Regions from separate parts of the Homo sapiens genome. Here region 2 is linked to region 1. The links are contacts of gene promoters, found by promoter capture Hi-C in human tissues and cell types (Jung and others, 2019). All regions are on one chromosome and are shown on one strand. Each heading gives the region's core, a stretch centred on a gene start or on the middle of the fragment in contact. The rest is flanking DNA. Distances are from core to core; before and after follow the strand shown. Region 1 holds the start of MMP25 (matrix metallopeptidase 25). Region 2 overlaps CLUAP1 (clusterin associated protein 1).

Region 1 (6,953 bases), core at 3,624-6,123:
GGGGGTGGGGTGGGGGCAGAGCCAATCAGTTCAAGGCCTTGAGAGCTAAAGCTAAGGTTTCCTGGAGAGGAAGGAATTCTGCCTCCAGACTGTCACTGAAATCCTGAGTTGCCAGCCTGCCGTACAAATTTTGGACTTGCTATCCCCTACAATCCCGTGAGCCAATTCCTTAAAATAAATCTCTTTACACACACGCACACACACACCCCCCCCACACACATACACACACACACACATCCCACACACACGTGCACACACACACACATCCTGTTGGTTTTGTTTCTCTGGAGACCTCCCAGCTGATAAAGCCTCCATCAGTAAATATAATTTAAACCTAATTATTGGCCAGGAGTGGTGGCTCATGCTTATAATCCCAATGCTTTGAGAGACCAAGATGGGAGGATCACTTGAGCCCAGGAGTTCAAGACCAGCCCTGGTGACATAGTGAAGCCCCATCTCTACAAAAAGTTTTAAAACTAGCCAGGTGTGGTGGTGCACATCTGTGGTCCTGGCTACGTGGTGGCTGAGGAGGGAGGATCACTTGAGCCCAGGAGGTGAAGGCTGCAGTGAGCCGTGATCGTGCAACTGCACTCCAGCCTGAGCAAGATAATGAGACCCTGTTTCTACAAAAAGTAAAAAAAACAAACAAAAAAAATAGCCAGGTATGGTGGTGTGCACCAGTGATCCCAGCTACTCTGGAGTCTGAGGTGGGAGGATTGCTTGAGCCAGAAGTTCGTGGTTGCAGTTAGCTATGATTGCACCACTGCACTCTAGCCTGAGCAACAGAGCAAGACCTTGTTTCTTAAACAAAACAAAACACACAACAGAAAACTTATTCTTAAGACCAGACCTGGCAAGAGGATCTCTCATAAGAGAGGAGATTTTACCTTTTGACCCAAAAGTCCAGGTCTCCTCATCGTCAAAGTGAGTGTCCCCGGAGATGGGGTGCTCCCCAGGGAAGAAGGCATGGGCTAGGGTGCCCCCCAACCCGTCGAAGGGGTAGCTGTCCTGGTGGAAGGCGCGGGCAAAGTCGATGAGGATGTCGGGCTCCTGGCCCTGGGGGGAATCCACCTCATGAAATGTGAGGCCTGACTCCATGCCCCAGGCCATCAGGGCATAGCTCATGAGGACCCGCACGGTCTCCTGGCTCAGCTGGGAGCTCTGGGGGAAGGAACGTACCCTGGGGAGAGGGGAGTGAGGTGTAAGGGTGGCCGTGGAGGGAGCAGGCAGCCATTCAAAGCCGGAGCCCAGCAGGCAGGGCCAGGGTGCGGGTGGGCCCCAGGACCTACCTCCATGTCAGGGTTCGCTTCTTCCACACGCTGCCGCTCAGAGCGTACCGGCGACGCCGCCTGACCAGCCCCGCCACCCCCAGCACGTCAGGCAGGGAGCAGCGGGGCTTACGCATGGTGGCCACTGTCCCTGGGTCTGCGGGAGACATTTGGCGGTGGGGGGTGTGTCCACAATAGGAGAGCCTGCCTTAATCATAGCACCAGTCAACTTTCTACATGGGAAAACTGAGGCTCAGAGGGCTCAAGAAATGTGCCCTCGAAGGCCCCACAGCCCAGGTTTGAACCCAGGCAGTCTGTCTCTGGAAGCCAGCTCCTACCAAGCCATTCCTACTGCCCTTTGGAGTGGCGTCACCTGGCCTGGGACAAACTGGCTGCATGCAGGTGATGCTCAGAGGCTCAGGCCAGGATTTTGCATCCAGCTTCCCTGGGCCCTGGTGGGCGGACTCTGGAGAAAGGAGCCCTGGGTATGCAGTGAGGACCCTTTGAGGCTGGAACCCCCTGGGAGCTGTGCAGGCCTCACACCATCACTGCCAAGTTCTCCTCAAACCCAGATTAGGTCCAAAGTGCCCAGGCCGGCTGGGTCTCTGGCCTCCTGTGGCAAGCCACCCCCTCCTGGGTTAGGTCTCTCTGGGGTCCCCTTTCCCAGCTGGGCTCCATCCCCAGTAGCCTCATCTCCAAATTAAGGTCAAACTGCGCCTCATTTATTGAGGCGGCAAATAGTGATGAAGGACATATAGATGCCAGACACTGTTCTAGGCTGTTTGTGAGTCACCAGGACAGACACAGGGCCTACCTTTCCTTGTAGTGAGCCAGATCCTTCAAATTCCCTCTTCCTGCCCACTTAACCCCACAGAAGAGTTCCTCGGCCCTGCCTCCAAAATATACACCCCGAATCCAACTACTTCTGGCCACATATGCCACCCATCCTTCTGCCACCATCCCTCGTGTGGACTCCGCAGCCGTCTTCTGCCTGGTCTCAGGGCTCCTGCCTTCCATTCTCCATCAGGACCCAGAGGAAGCTTAAAACTGCAAGTCAAAGCCGGGCACGGTGGCTCATGCCTGTAATCCCAGCACTGTGGGAGGCCAAGGTGGGCTGATCGCTTGAGGCTAAGAGTTCGAGACCTGCTTGGCCAACATGGCAAAACCCTGTCTCTACTAAACATACAAAAAAATTAGCTGGGCATGGTGGCGGATGCCTGTAGTCCCAGCTACTCAGGAGGCTGAGGCAGGAGAATCACTTGAACCCGGGAGGCAGAGATTGCAATGAGCCGAGATTGCGCCACTGTACTGCAGCCTGGGCCACAGAGTGAGACTCTGTCTAAAAAAAAAAAAAAAAAAATTGCAAGTCATACCAAGTTCTGAATTGCTTCCCTTCTGAGAACACTTAGGTGGTTGCTAATCACCCTTGGAATCAACCCTAATCACCTTTCAGGGCCCTTGGCTGAGGCCTCTCGCCAGAGCTCTTCAATGCTCCTTTTGCTCCAGGCACACAAGCTTCTGCGTGCCGTGGGGTCTTTGCACTTGCCCGGGACACTCTTCTTCCACATCTTCCCATGGCTGGTTCCTCCTCTTTGTGGTCTCAGCTCATATGACACTTTTCAGAGGGACCTGCCCTAACCAGACCAGCCCCTCAATGCCAATAGCATTTTATTTTTTTCTAAACACTCACCGCCATCTGAAATTATCTTTCATATTTATGTTCTTGATCTGTCTCTCTCTCTCTCCCTCGAGAAAGTTAGCTCCATGAGAGCAGGAACCTTACCTACTTTATTTATCACTATACCATTGGAGCTGAAAGGGCGTGGCATCTAAGAGATGCTCAAAGTATATTTGGTTAGAGACTGGGTCTCCATCTGTTGCCCAGGTTGGAGTGCAACGGTGCAATCATAGCTCACTGCAGCCTTGAACTTCTGGGCTTAAGCAATTTTCCCATCTCAGCGTTCTGAGTAGCTGGGACCACAGGCCTATGCCACTACACTCAGCTAAATTTAAAAAAATCCTTAGAGGACTGGGCACGGTGGCTCACACCTGTAATCCCAGGACTTTGGGAGGCCAAGGCCGGCGGGTTACCTGAGGCCAGGAGTTCGAAACCAGCCTGATCAGCATGGAGAAACCCCGTCTCTACTAAAAATACAAAATTAGCCTGGTGTGATGGTGCGTGCCTGTAATCCCAGCTACTCAGGAGGCTGAGGCAGGAGAATCACTTGAACCTGGGAGGCAGAGGTTGCGGTGAGCCGAGATGGTACCATTGCACTCCAGCCTGGGCAAAAAGAGGGATACTCCGTCTCAAAAAAAAAAAAAAAAAATCCTTGGAGAGTGGGGGGGTCTCACTTTGTTGGCCAAGCTGGTCTCAAACTCCTGGCCTGAAGCAATCCTTGAGTCTCCGCCTCCCAAAACCCTGGGATTACCGGCATGAGCCACCAGGTTCTTGATAAATGCTTATGGAAAGATGAACGCCTGAGGCCCTCTGGGTTTGGGGCCTGAGATCAGCATCTTCACAGCTCCGTGTTCCAGGAGCACACTGAGGTCTAAAGGCTGTTGGGCGGTGGACAGGCTGGGTGCAGAGGCAGGGCTGGGGAGGGGTGGGGGCCACCTACCCATGCGGCCGGTCTCCGGCAGCCCCGCGAACCTCTGCATGACTTTGATGGCATCGCGCAACTTCTCAGGGCTCTGCAGCTGGGCCTGGGCAGGGTGGGGTGGCGGCAGGTAACCATAGCGAGTCAGCCAGTCCTAGGGCATCGGAGGGGGCAGGTGAAGCGGGCTGGGTGAAAAGTATGGGCTCTCTCTGCCCACCACCATCCTGGCAGCCCTGCCCCTCCCAGGCACCCAGAGCCCAGGGCCCCAGCCCCGGATGCCTGCCTGCTCCCCTCCATAGGTCCCCGCTTCAGTCCCGGGTTTGCCAGTCTTGTCTGGACTTCAGCTCCGCACCTCAGCTCCTTTCCAGAGCTCCAAATCCCAGCCCCAAACTTCCCGACAGACCCAAGAAGCCGGGAGCACAGACCCCATCCTCAGTCACTCTTTGGATATTGGAATCTGGCCCCTGCCTCCTCCGGACCCAGGAGTCCGGGCCCGGCTTCCCTCTCCCAATCTCTCTGCAGACCCCAGGAGCCTGCGGACCCCGCGCTCACCACGCCCAGGCTCACGTCCTGCGCCGAGGGCTTCGGGGCGCGCGCGGGCGGTGCCAGCAGCAGAAGCAGCAGCGCCAGAAGCCGGAGCCGCAGCCGCATGGTGCGCCCCAGCCCGGGCCGCCGGCGGGGTTCGAAGGGGGCCTGGCTGGGGCCGCCCCGGGGACCTGGGGGAGGAGATCCGGGCCTGGAGAGGGCGGGGGGCACCCGGCACCGAGTAGGGAGGGATCGGCCGGAGGGCTGGGATGTGTGTGGGGGTCCCGGGAAGTGCGCGGTGGAGTCAGCGGAGGGTCCCGGAGGGCCAGGGTCGCGCCGCTGGGTCGGGTGGGCCCGGGAATCCCAGGATGGTTGAGAGGGCGCGGGAGCGGCGGAGGTCTGGATGTGCCGCGGCGGCCTCTCGGGGTCCCGGGGCGCTGCGCCAGCGGCCCCTCCTCTCCGGGCGCGAGCGGAGGGCTGGGTGGGGCGGGCCGGGCCGGGCCGGGCGCACCCCGATATGCGGTAAGGGCGCGGCAAGGGAAATGGCCCAATCTTCGGACGTCCAGCGACAAGGGGCGGGCCAAGAGGTGGCCCCTGCCCGACCCAGAGACCCTCCTCCGACGCAGGACGCCCGGGCGGGGGCCGGGGGTCCACGGCTCTAACTCCCTCGTCCGCAAGTTTCTCTTCCCAGATCCCCGCTCCTGTGGGACTCCCCGGGGCAGGGCTCGCTTCTGCTTTCTCGAAGCCGCGCGGCCTGGGGGAGGGCGGCCCGGGCCTTCGGCTCAGCCAGCCCTCCCCATCCCTGTATCCCGCCCCTCTCCTTCCCCCCAGGACCCCGTGGGGCAGGTTGTCTGAGAGCCGGGGGGATTTCCGGGCAGCAGGAGGCTGGGAAGGAAGCCTCCTTCCCCGCGGGGTCCCGGCCCGCCCTCCGCCCCGCCAGCTCCAGCTGTGCGCGGTTGCAGCTGCCCGAGGGCCAATACTCAGTCCCTCAGCCCACGTGGGCTGCGCGCGGGGCTCGGCCTGGGCACGCGGGGGTTTGGGCCCCTCTAGATGCCGGGAGCAGCGGCTGCTCCGCGACTGCACCCCTCTCCCTAAGTGCCGGACATTTAAATGCTGCAGCCACTGCGCGGAAGCCACAGCGCCTGCCAGTGCCGGGAGCCGGGGACCGGGGAGTGAGTAGGCGGGGGAGATCCGGGAAGCCGAGACCTGGGGGTCTGCGAGCCGCCTCCTCCCGCGCCGAGAGCACCGGGCTAGGAGGCCGGACAGGTGGGGAAGGAACTGGAGGAAGCGGGCGGGAGGCTTCCTGGGGAGGGCGGGTGGGCGAGTGTGAGTTAAACTGCTCAGTCTCGGAGCAGTTCAGGGGCAGCCGCCGGAGCTGCTCACAAAATAAACAGCGAGCAGGATGCGGAGCTGGAGATGCAAAGGCAAACACTGCGATCCCGCGCCCGCTCGCTGGGGCCGCCAGAACAAAACACCAAGGACTGGGAGGCTCAACCAGAAGTTTACGTTCTCACAGTTCTGGAAACTGGAAGGCCAAGATCAAGGTGCCTGAGGGGCTAGTTTCTCCGGATGCCTCCTCCTGGGCAGGCAGATGGGCGTCCTCTTGCTGTTTCCCCACACGGCCGTCCCCCTGCGCTTGCACACCCCAGAAGTATCGTCCTCTTTTGTTTTGTTTTGTTTTGTTTTGTTTTGCTTTTTTTGAGACGGAGTCTCGCTCTGTCGCCCAGGCTGGAGTGCAGTGGCGCGATCTCGGCTCACTGCAAACTCCGCCTCCCTGGTTCACGCCATTCTCCTGCCTCAGCCTCCCGAGTAGCTGGGACTACAGGCGCCCGCCACCACGCCCGGCTAATTTTTTTGTATTTTAGTAGAGACGGGGTTTCACCGTGTTAGCCAGGATGGTCTCCATCTCCTGACCTCGTGATCTGCCGGCCTCGGCCTCCCAAAGTTCTGGGATTACAGGCGTGAGCCACCGCGCCTGGTCATTGACCTCTTGTAAGAAGTCAATCATCGGGGCCACCCTAAAAGCCTCATTTTAAGTTAGTCACTTTTTTATCAGCTCTATCTCTAACTATAATCACATTCTGAGGTACTGGGGGTTAGGGCTTTAACATACAAATTCTTCTTCTCTCTCTGGTTTGTTTTTTTTGTTTGTTTGGTTGGTTTTGGTTTTTTTGTTTGTTTGTTTGTTTTGAGCCAGGGTCTCGCTCTGTCTCCCAGGCTGGAGTGCAGCAGTAGCATGATCATAGCTCACCGCAGCCTGGAACTCCTAGGCTCAAGCAATCCTCCTGTCTCAGCCTGTCAAGTAGCTGGGACAACTGGCCCAAGCCACCATGCCCATGTTTTTTCTTTCTTTCTTTTTTTTTTTTCTTTTTCTTTTCTTTTGGTAGAGACGGGGCCTCCCTGTGTTGCTCAGGGCTTTCTTGAACTCCTAGGCTCAACCATTTCTCCTGCCTCAGGCTCCCAAAGTGCTAGGATTACAGGCGTGAGCCACCATTCCTGTAATGGTCAACATAAGAATATTGACAGGGCACAATTTACTCCATAACAGATCCCATGTTTGTCA
Region 2 (7,160 bases), core at 595-3,094, 460 kb before region 1:
CTTCAGAAGTCTTTAGAGGTCCCCAGGTGTTTGCACTGGGCAGCAAGGTCGGGGAACTGCAAGCTCAGAAGATCATTTTTGAGAAAATGCTGAAGCAGAGTACACCAGAAAAAAACATCATGATCAATAAAGTCTGCCAGTGGGCACAACAAGGACAGCTCAGTCACATGCCATGGAGCTGCCACTCCTAAACAAGAAGTTAAAGGTAGACCAGTGCCGGGCGCGGTGGCTCACACCGGTAATCCCAGCACTTTGGGAGGCCAAGGCAGGCAGATCACGAGGTCAGGAGATTGAGACCATCCTGGCTAACACGGTGAAACCCTGTCTCTACTAAAAATACAAAAAATTAGCCGGGTGTGGTGGCAGGCACCTGTAGTCCCAGCTACTTGGGAGGCTGAGGCAGGAGAATGGCGTGAACCTGGGAGGCGGAGCTTGCAGTGAGACGAGATTGCGCCACTGCACTCCAGCCTGGGCAACACAGCGAGACTCCGTCTCAAAAATAAATAAATAAAAATAAATAAATAAATAAATAAAGCTAGACCAGTGCCCACCAGAAGCAGGAAGGACAGCTAATATCCTCTATCACCTTTCCACACATTAGCTCATTCAACCAGGTGTATTTCATTAAATCAGAACTGAAAAGGGAGAAACAGAATTGAAAAAGAAAACCTTGAAGAGAAAATCTGCATGGTTAAGGAAGTACTGGAATGCTTACCCTCAACTCTACTTCCATGCCGAGCAAGTCATACAGAGATGCTCCTTTGGAGGTGATTTCAGACGCAAGCTGCCTGGCTGCCTTCAAATCTGCAATCTGGAAGGAAAATAACAAAAACAGAAACCTCAGCAACAGATGTTTTTTAATAGAGACAGGGTCTTGGCTATGTTACCCAGGCTGCTCTCTAACTCCTGGCCTCAAGTGACCCTCCGACCTCAGCCTCCCAAAGTGTTGGGATTATAGGCAGAACCACCATGTTCAGCCAGCCACAGATTTTTTTTTTTTTTTTTTTGAGACGGAGTTTCGTTCTTGTTGCCTAGGCTGGAGTGTGATAGCGCGATCTCGGCTCACCGCAATCTCCACCTCCCAGGTTCAAGTAATTTTCCTGCCTCAGCCTCCCAAGTGGCTGGGATTACAGGCATGTGCCACCACGCCCGGCTAATTTTGTATTTTTAGTAGAGACAGGATTTCTACATGTTGGTCAGGCTGCTCTTGAATTCCTGACCTCAGGTGATCCACCCACCTCGGCCTCCCAAAGTGCTGGGATCACAGGCGTGAGCCACCGTGCCCGGCCAGCCACAGATTTTTAACATGCATTCAACCACTAGCCTGTTCATGTCAGCTCCTACCTTTGGTTGGGACACGTGACCACAAACATGTGCTTCCCCAGTTACATGCTCACAGGCTGCGGGACACACGCTCAGGAAATGATCATCTAAGTACTAAAGAGACCAATTCCAGGACGCCTGGGTCTCTCCAAAAAACCTAATGTCACCTCAAACTGAAGCCACAACCAGGAGGGCATAGCTGGGAGAAAGCTGACGTGCTTCCTACTTGGACTTTGTCACAGTAGGGTGCCTGACGGCAGCAGAGCGGCCACACAAAGGGACAGCCTGAGGGACACACATCCTCTTGCAGCAGCCTGACGTCCTGTGTTTCGTCCTCCCCTGCCCTCCTTCTCTGCCTCAGACTTTCCTCCACAGGCTTGGAGAGGCGCAAATCGGGTGGCACCCACTAAGGACTTACAATGGTTCTGGGCTCCACAGATGGGCAGCTGTTGCCAGGAAGGTGATGACAACCACAATGAGGATTTAGCACTGAGCCCTGTGCACAGGCTTCTTTCTTAGGATGTGTGTGTCACCCCTTCTTCCTAGAATATGCTAACTCTTCTAAGGAGCCCAAACATAAACGTCTCCCTGCTCTGCTCACTCTCCCTCTCTCCTGGACAACCAATCCTCACCTTCTGGCTCTCATTTTCAACCCACTAGCAACAACTCTCCCTCTTCATTTGCAGCTGATGGCTTTGATAGCTTGCTTCCCTCTTCCTTAGTCCTCCAGGATCCAGCCTGCTCTGGCTCTAGCTGCTTTTCTTCCCTTCCGAGCAGCACATCCCCAAACTTCTTTGCAGGAGTCTGTCACCTTCTCTGCTTCTCAAAAGTGGAGCGAGTCAGAGTTTCATTCCTGGACCCCCCGTCTTTTCTGCTGGCTCTGCTCCTACCCTCAAGGCTTTAATACCATCTGTGTGCTGATTGCTCCCCAGCTCCCAGCTCCAGCCTGGGCTTTCCCTGGGCTCTAGTTTCACATACCAGCTACCTGTGCACCATCTCCACCTGGACAGCCAATCGGCGTGGCAAATGGAGCATGTGCAGAACCTTCTCTGCTTCAGTACATGGCAACTTCATCCTTCCAGGGGCTCACACAAAAAACTTCAGAGCAGTGATGTCTAATATAGTAACCAATAGCCACATGTGGCCATTTTCACTTAAATTACTTAAGAATTAAAGAAAATGCAGAACTCAACTCAGTTCCTCAGTTGTGCTTGCCACATGTGGCCAGTGGTTCCCGTAGAGTACAGCACAGAGGCGGAACACACCCATGAGCTCTGCAAGCTCTGCCGCACGGCTGCCCCAAGACCCGGCCTGTAGCACCTGACTTACTCTCAACCCATGCCTCATCCCGTGAGATCTACCATCAAAATATGCCCCAATCTCTAGACACTTCTCTTGCTGACGAGTGTCGCTCCTGGTTAAAAACCCACATGTGAGGACAGGCGCGGTGGCTCACGCCTATAATCCCAGCACTACGGGAGGCCGAGGCAGGCAGATCACCTGAGGTCAGGAGTTTGAGACTAGCTGGCCAACATGGTGAAACCCCATCTCTGCTAAAAAAAAAAAAAAAAATACAAAGCCGGGTGCGGTGGCTCACGCCTGTAATCCTAGCACTTTGGGAGGCTGAGGCGGGCAGATCACCTGAGGTCAGGAGTTCGAGACTAGCCTGACCAACATGGAGAAACCCTGACTCTACTACAAGTAAAAAATTAGCTGGGTGTGGTGGCGCATGCCTGTAATCTCAGCTACTCAGGAGGCTGAGGCAGAAGAATCACTTGAACCTGGGAGGCAGAGGTTGCAGTGAGCTGAGATTGTGCCATTGCACTCCAGCCTGGGCAACAAGAGTGAAACTCCATCTCAAAAAAAAAAAAAAAAAATTAGCTGGGCATGGTGGTGTGTACCTGTAATCCCAGCTACTTAGGAGGCTGAGGCAGAAGAATCTCTTGAACCTGGGAGGCAGAGGCGCAGCGAGCCAAGATCGTGCCATTGCACTCCAGCCTGGGCCACAGACTGAAACTCCGTCTCAAAACAAAACAAAAACAAAACAAAAAAGCTGTGTGTGGCTTTTCAAGCCCAACTATAGACCATGACAAGGCCTCACCTAGCAGGCCTCACAGGGGAAGCTTTCTTCCCTGCAGCAGACTTGGAGCTCAGCCAGTGCACTGTGGTTTCACGTACCCTGCGTGGCCACACTCTTAGGTGCACTCCCAGCCCCGGGGCCTTCATTCCTAGGTCTCCTGCTCTGAGGCCTTGGGCCTCAGAGTAACGGCTTAACCTTTATTTCTGGCTTGCTGCTGTGGTCGCTCCCTGACACCTGACGGCACCTGTCCCACCAGCACTCTGCTCAAAGCCACGGTCACCCCTCACTCTCCAAACAGGCTCGCTGCTTCCAGCCCTGCCGCCTGCTTCGGTCTGATGGCGGCTCAGCAGCCAGAGCAACCCTTTGGACGGGAAATAAGCACAGAAGGTTCCGCTTGGATCCCAACGATTCCCACCTTAGAGGCAAAGACAAAGGCTTTCCAGGGGCTTCCCAGGCGCCAGAGGGTCTGTCAATCCCAACCCTCATCACACGGCCTCCTTGCTTTTCCTCAAACACACAAAACACATTTTTTTTCTTCCCCCCAGACAAGGTCTCGTTCTGTTGCCTAGGCGGGAGCGCAGTGCCATGAACATGGCTTGACTGCCTGGGCTCAAGAGATCTTCCCACCTCAGCCTCCTGGGCAGCTGGGACCACAGGTGTGTACCACCACGCCTAGCTAATTTTTTTCTTTTTTTTGGTAAAAATGGCGTCTCACTATGTTGCCCAGGTTGGTCTGGAACTCTTGGCATCAAAGGATCCTCCCACCTCGGCCTCCCAAAGTGTTTGGCTTACAGGAGTGAGTCACTGCACCCAGCCCAAAACAAATTATCATCCTGAGACACCCTGACGCCACCCGCCACCCGCACAACTCACTCTTTCCCTCCCTTGGATCTCTGCTGGAAACACCATCCAATCCATGAGGCCTTCCTGATCACCCGATTTAAGATCACTCTGGGCAGCATCCATCCCCATCCCAGCTTATTATTCTCCACAGCCTGCACTGCATCTGGCCTTCCACACCTCTTATTGTTCACAGTCTGACTCCCCTAACTGAAGAGAATAAACACACGATTTTTGTCCTTTTTGTTCACAACTGTATCCTCAGCGCTTGAATGCTACCTGACAAATACTAAGCTTTTAATAAATAGTTGAATTAGTGGATTGTGACTTTGACTTTATCCAAATGCTGATGAGCACAAAACTGACAAACTGCCCTCAGCTGAGGAGGAAGAAAAGCAGCGGAGCTGTAGCAGACTCCTTCCACTTCAGAGCTCAAGAAATCAACGCTCCATCGCCCACTACAAGGCTTTTGTTGTCCTTACCTTTGAGCCAAGATCAAACTTGAACTTGTTGACATCTTCCTCTACTATTTCAGAGCCCTCCATCCCCTTGGTCTTCATAGCATTATAAAGGACAGATGTGATCTTCAGCAGCTCTTTTACCGCATACCCATCTGCTTGATAAAGCTTCTTAGTGTTGAGTTTTATATGTGCCTTGGTGGCCTATTTTTAGACCAAAAAAAAAAAAAGTTGAAGGCCCTTTCCATGTAATGTCTAAACTAAATCCCATGTAGGTGAGTTGAAAATGCCTCTGCTGACAACTGGGATATAACCTAATAAAAGCAAAGCATTCAAGTGACTCAAACATTGTGAGTGGTTGTATAAACTGGGACAATCTTGATGGAGAGCAATTTGGTAAAAGACATCAAAATTACAAATGCACATATCTTTTGACCCAGCAATCCCAAATCTAAGAACTTATTCTAGGGACACACTCAAACACAAACAAAATGAGATGTACAGGTTATTTGTTACAGCACTGTTCCAAAGAGCAAAGCTTCAGACAACCTAAAAGCCTACCTATATAAATTACATAAATTATGGCAAATCCATGCAAGCAATACCACTCAGGCGTAAACAGAATGAGGAAATTCTATATGTATTTGGAAAGTTCTCTAAAATATACCATTAAGTAAAGCAAGATGCTAAACATCTTGTAGTGTACAGTAAGTACATCAAGTAGAATACAGTACCATTTGTGTAAAACAAAGGAAAAATATATATTTTTATTTGCACACACACACACACACACACACACACACACACACACAAACTCTGGAAGAGATTTAAAATAGTGGTTATTTGGAATGGAACTTGGCCCAGGGCAGATAGGGTAAAAAGTCATTTTACTCCATTTTGTTTCATAATGTTTTTAATTTTTTTTTTTTTTTTGAGATAGGGTCTCACTCTGTCACCTGGGCTGGAGTGCAATGACATGATCCCGGCTCACTGCAGCCTCAACCTCCCGGGCTCAAGCAATCCTCCCACCTCAGCCTCCCAAGCACCTGAGACTACAGGCACGTGTCACCAGGCCCATCTAATTTTTTTTAAATTTATTTTTTGTAGAGACAGGATCTCACTACATCACCCAGGCTGTTCTCAAACTCCTGGACTCAAGCTATCCTCCCACCTTGGCCTGCCAAAGTGCTAGGATTACAGGCATGAACAACCACGCCCAGCCTACTTTCAATTTGTGAGCCATGAAATATGTTATCTATTCAAAAATAAATAAATAAAATTCTTTTTTTTTTTTTTTAAGACAGAGTCTTGCTCTGTTGCCCAGGCTGGAGTGCAGTGGCGTGATCTCGGCTCACTGCAAGCTCTGCCTCCCAGGTTCACACCATTCTCCTGCCTCAGCCTCCCGAGTAGCTGGGACTACAGGTGCCCGCCACCACATCCAACTAATTTTTTGTATTTTTACTGGAGACGGGGTTTCACCCTGCTAGCCAGGATAGTCTCAATCTCCTGACCTCGTGATCCGCCCACCTCGGCCTTCCAAAGTGCTGGGATTACAGGCGTGAGCCACCACACCTGGCATAAACAAAATTCTTAACAAATAATGAATTAAAAGACAAACAAAAAGAACTTCGCTGGTGAAATGGTGCCACAGAAACCCAGCAATGGAATGGTTTTAGAAAGCAAACTCAGGCCAGGCGCGTGGTGGCTCACATCTGTAATTCCAGCACTTTGGGAGGCCAAGGAGGGTGGATTACTTGAGGTCGGGAGTTTGAGACCAGCCTAGCCAACATGGTGAAACCCAGTCTCTACTAAAAATGCAAAAATTAGCCAGGTGTGGTGGCGTGTGCCTCTAATCCTAGCTACTCGGGAGGCTGAGACAGGAGAACCCCCGAGGAGACGGAGGTTGCAGTGAGCCAAGATTGTGCCACTGCACTCCGGCCTGGGCGAGAGAATGAGACTCCATCTCAAAAAAAAAGAAAGAAAAACTCAATTACACAGTTTGAAAGTCGCCCTAACAAGGAGTCATCCTTTCTAGTTTATTTAATTTTACAACTCCACAAAATAAGTGTCCACTAACCATGAACTGGGCAATTGCCTTAATGAAGAAAACTCGGTCCTGTTCAGTATCCACGTCAGGCGGGATGTCAGTCTGGGGCTCATATCTATCAAGAGAGGTAAGAGGAGAGAGCACGGGTTAACCAAGGAGAAAGTCTACTAAAGAGAATGTGGGCAACTGAGAGGACAGCGGGTCTGGAACACAACGCTCTCCAAGTCCCCAAGTGGGAGAGTGAGATCAAGGCAAACTTCAAAAGCAAAACCAAATACCAAGGGAGCAAATCCCCACCTAAGAAAAACAGATTTCAAAAACTAAATGTGGATCTCAGCTTATAAAATTAAATCTCTCTCAGATCTCACCATGTCATGAAGCTAATCAGAACTGCTACCCTGGCTGACAGCCC

The links. The method cuts DNA at HindIII sites, captures the fragments that hold promoters and counts their contacts. A contact is called where the count stands out against the background at its distance.
Region 2: a contact is called between a fragment that was not itself captured here and the fragment with the promoter of MMP25 in region 1, in 1 of the 25 tissues and cell types used here (lymphoblastoid cells).

What each region holds. Positions count from the first base shown.
Region 1 is chr16:3,044,481-3,051,433 of GRCh38, reverse strand. MMP25 (matrix metallopeptidase 25) reads right to left here and starts at 4,873. Exons shown (of 10, transcript NM_022468.5): 1 at 4,418-4,873; 2 at 3,887-4,019; 3 at 1,290-1,425; 4 at 888-1,180. The coding sequence starts at 4,516. RefSeq lists enhancers at 1,329-1,921, 3,413-3,992, 5,841-5,920 and silencers at 4,871-5,160, 5,201-5,400. The HindIII fragment of the contact is 14,233 bases long and covers 2,547-6,953 here.
Region 2 is chr16:3,506,034-3,513,193 of GRCh38, reverse strand. CLUAP1 (clusterin associated protein 1) reads right to left here. Exons shown (of 12, transcript NM_015041.3): 3 at 6,779-6,863; 4 at 4,726-4,905; 5 at 716-811. Among named protein-coding and RNA genes, the nearest start is that of CLUAP1, 8.6 kb to the right of the region's middle. RefSeq lists an enhancer at 3,220-3,279. The HindIII fragment of the contact is 6,420 bases long and covers 1-5,054 here.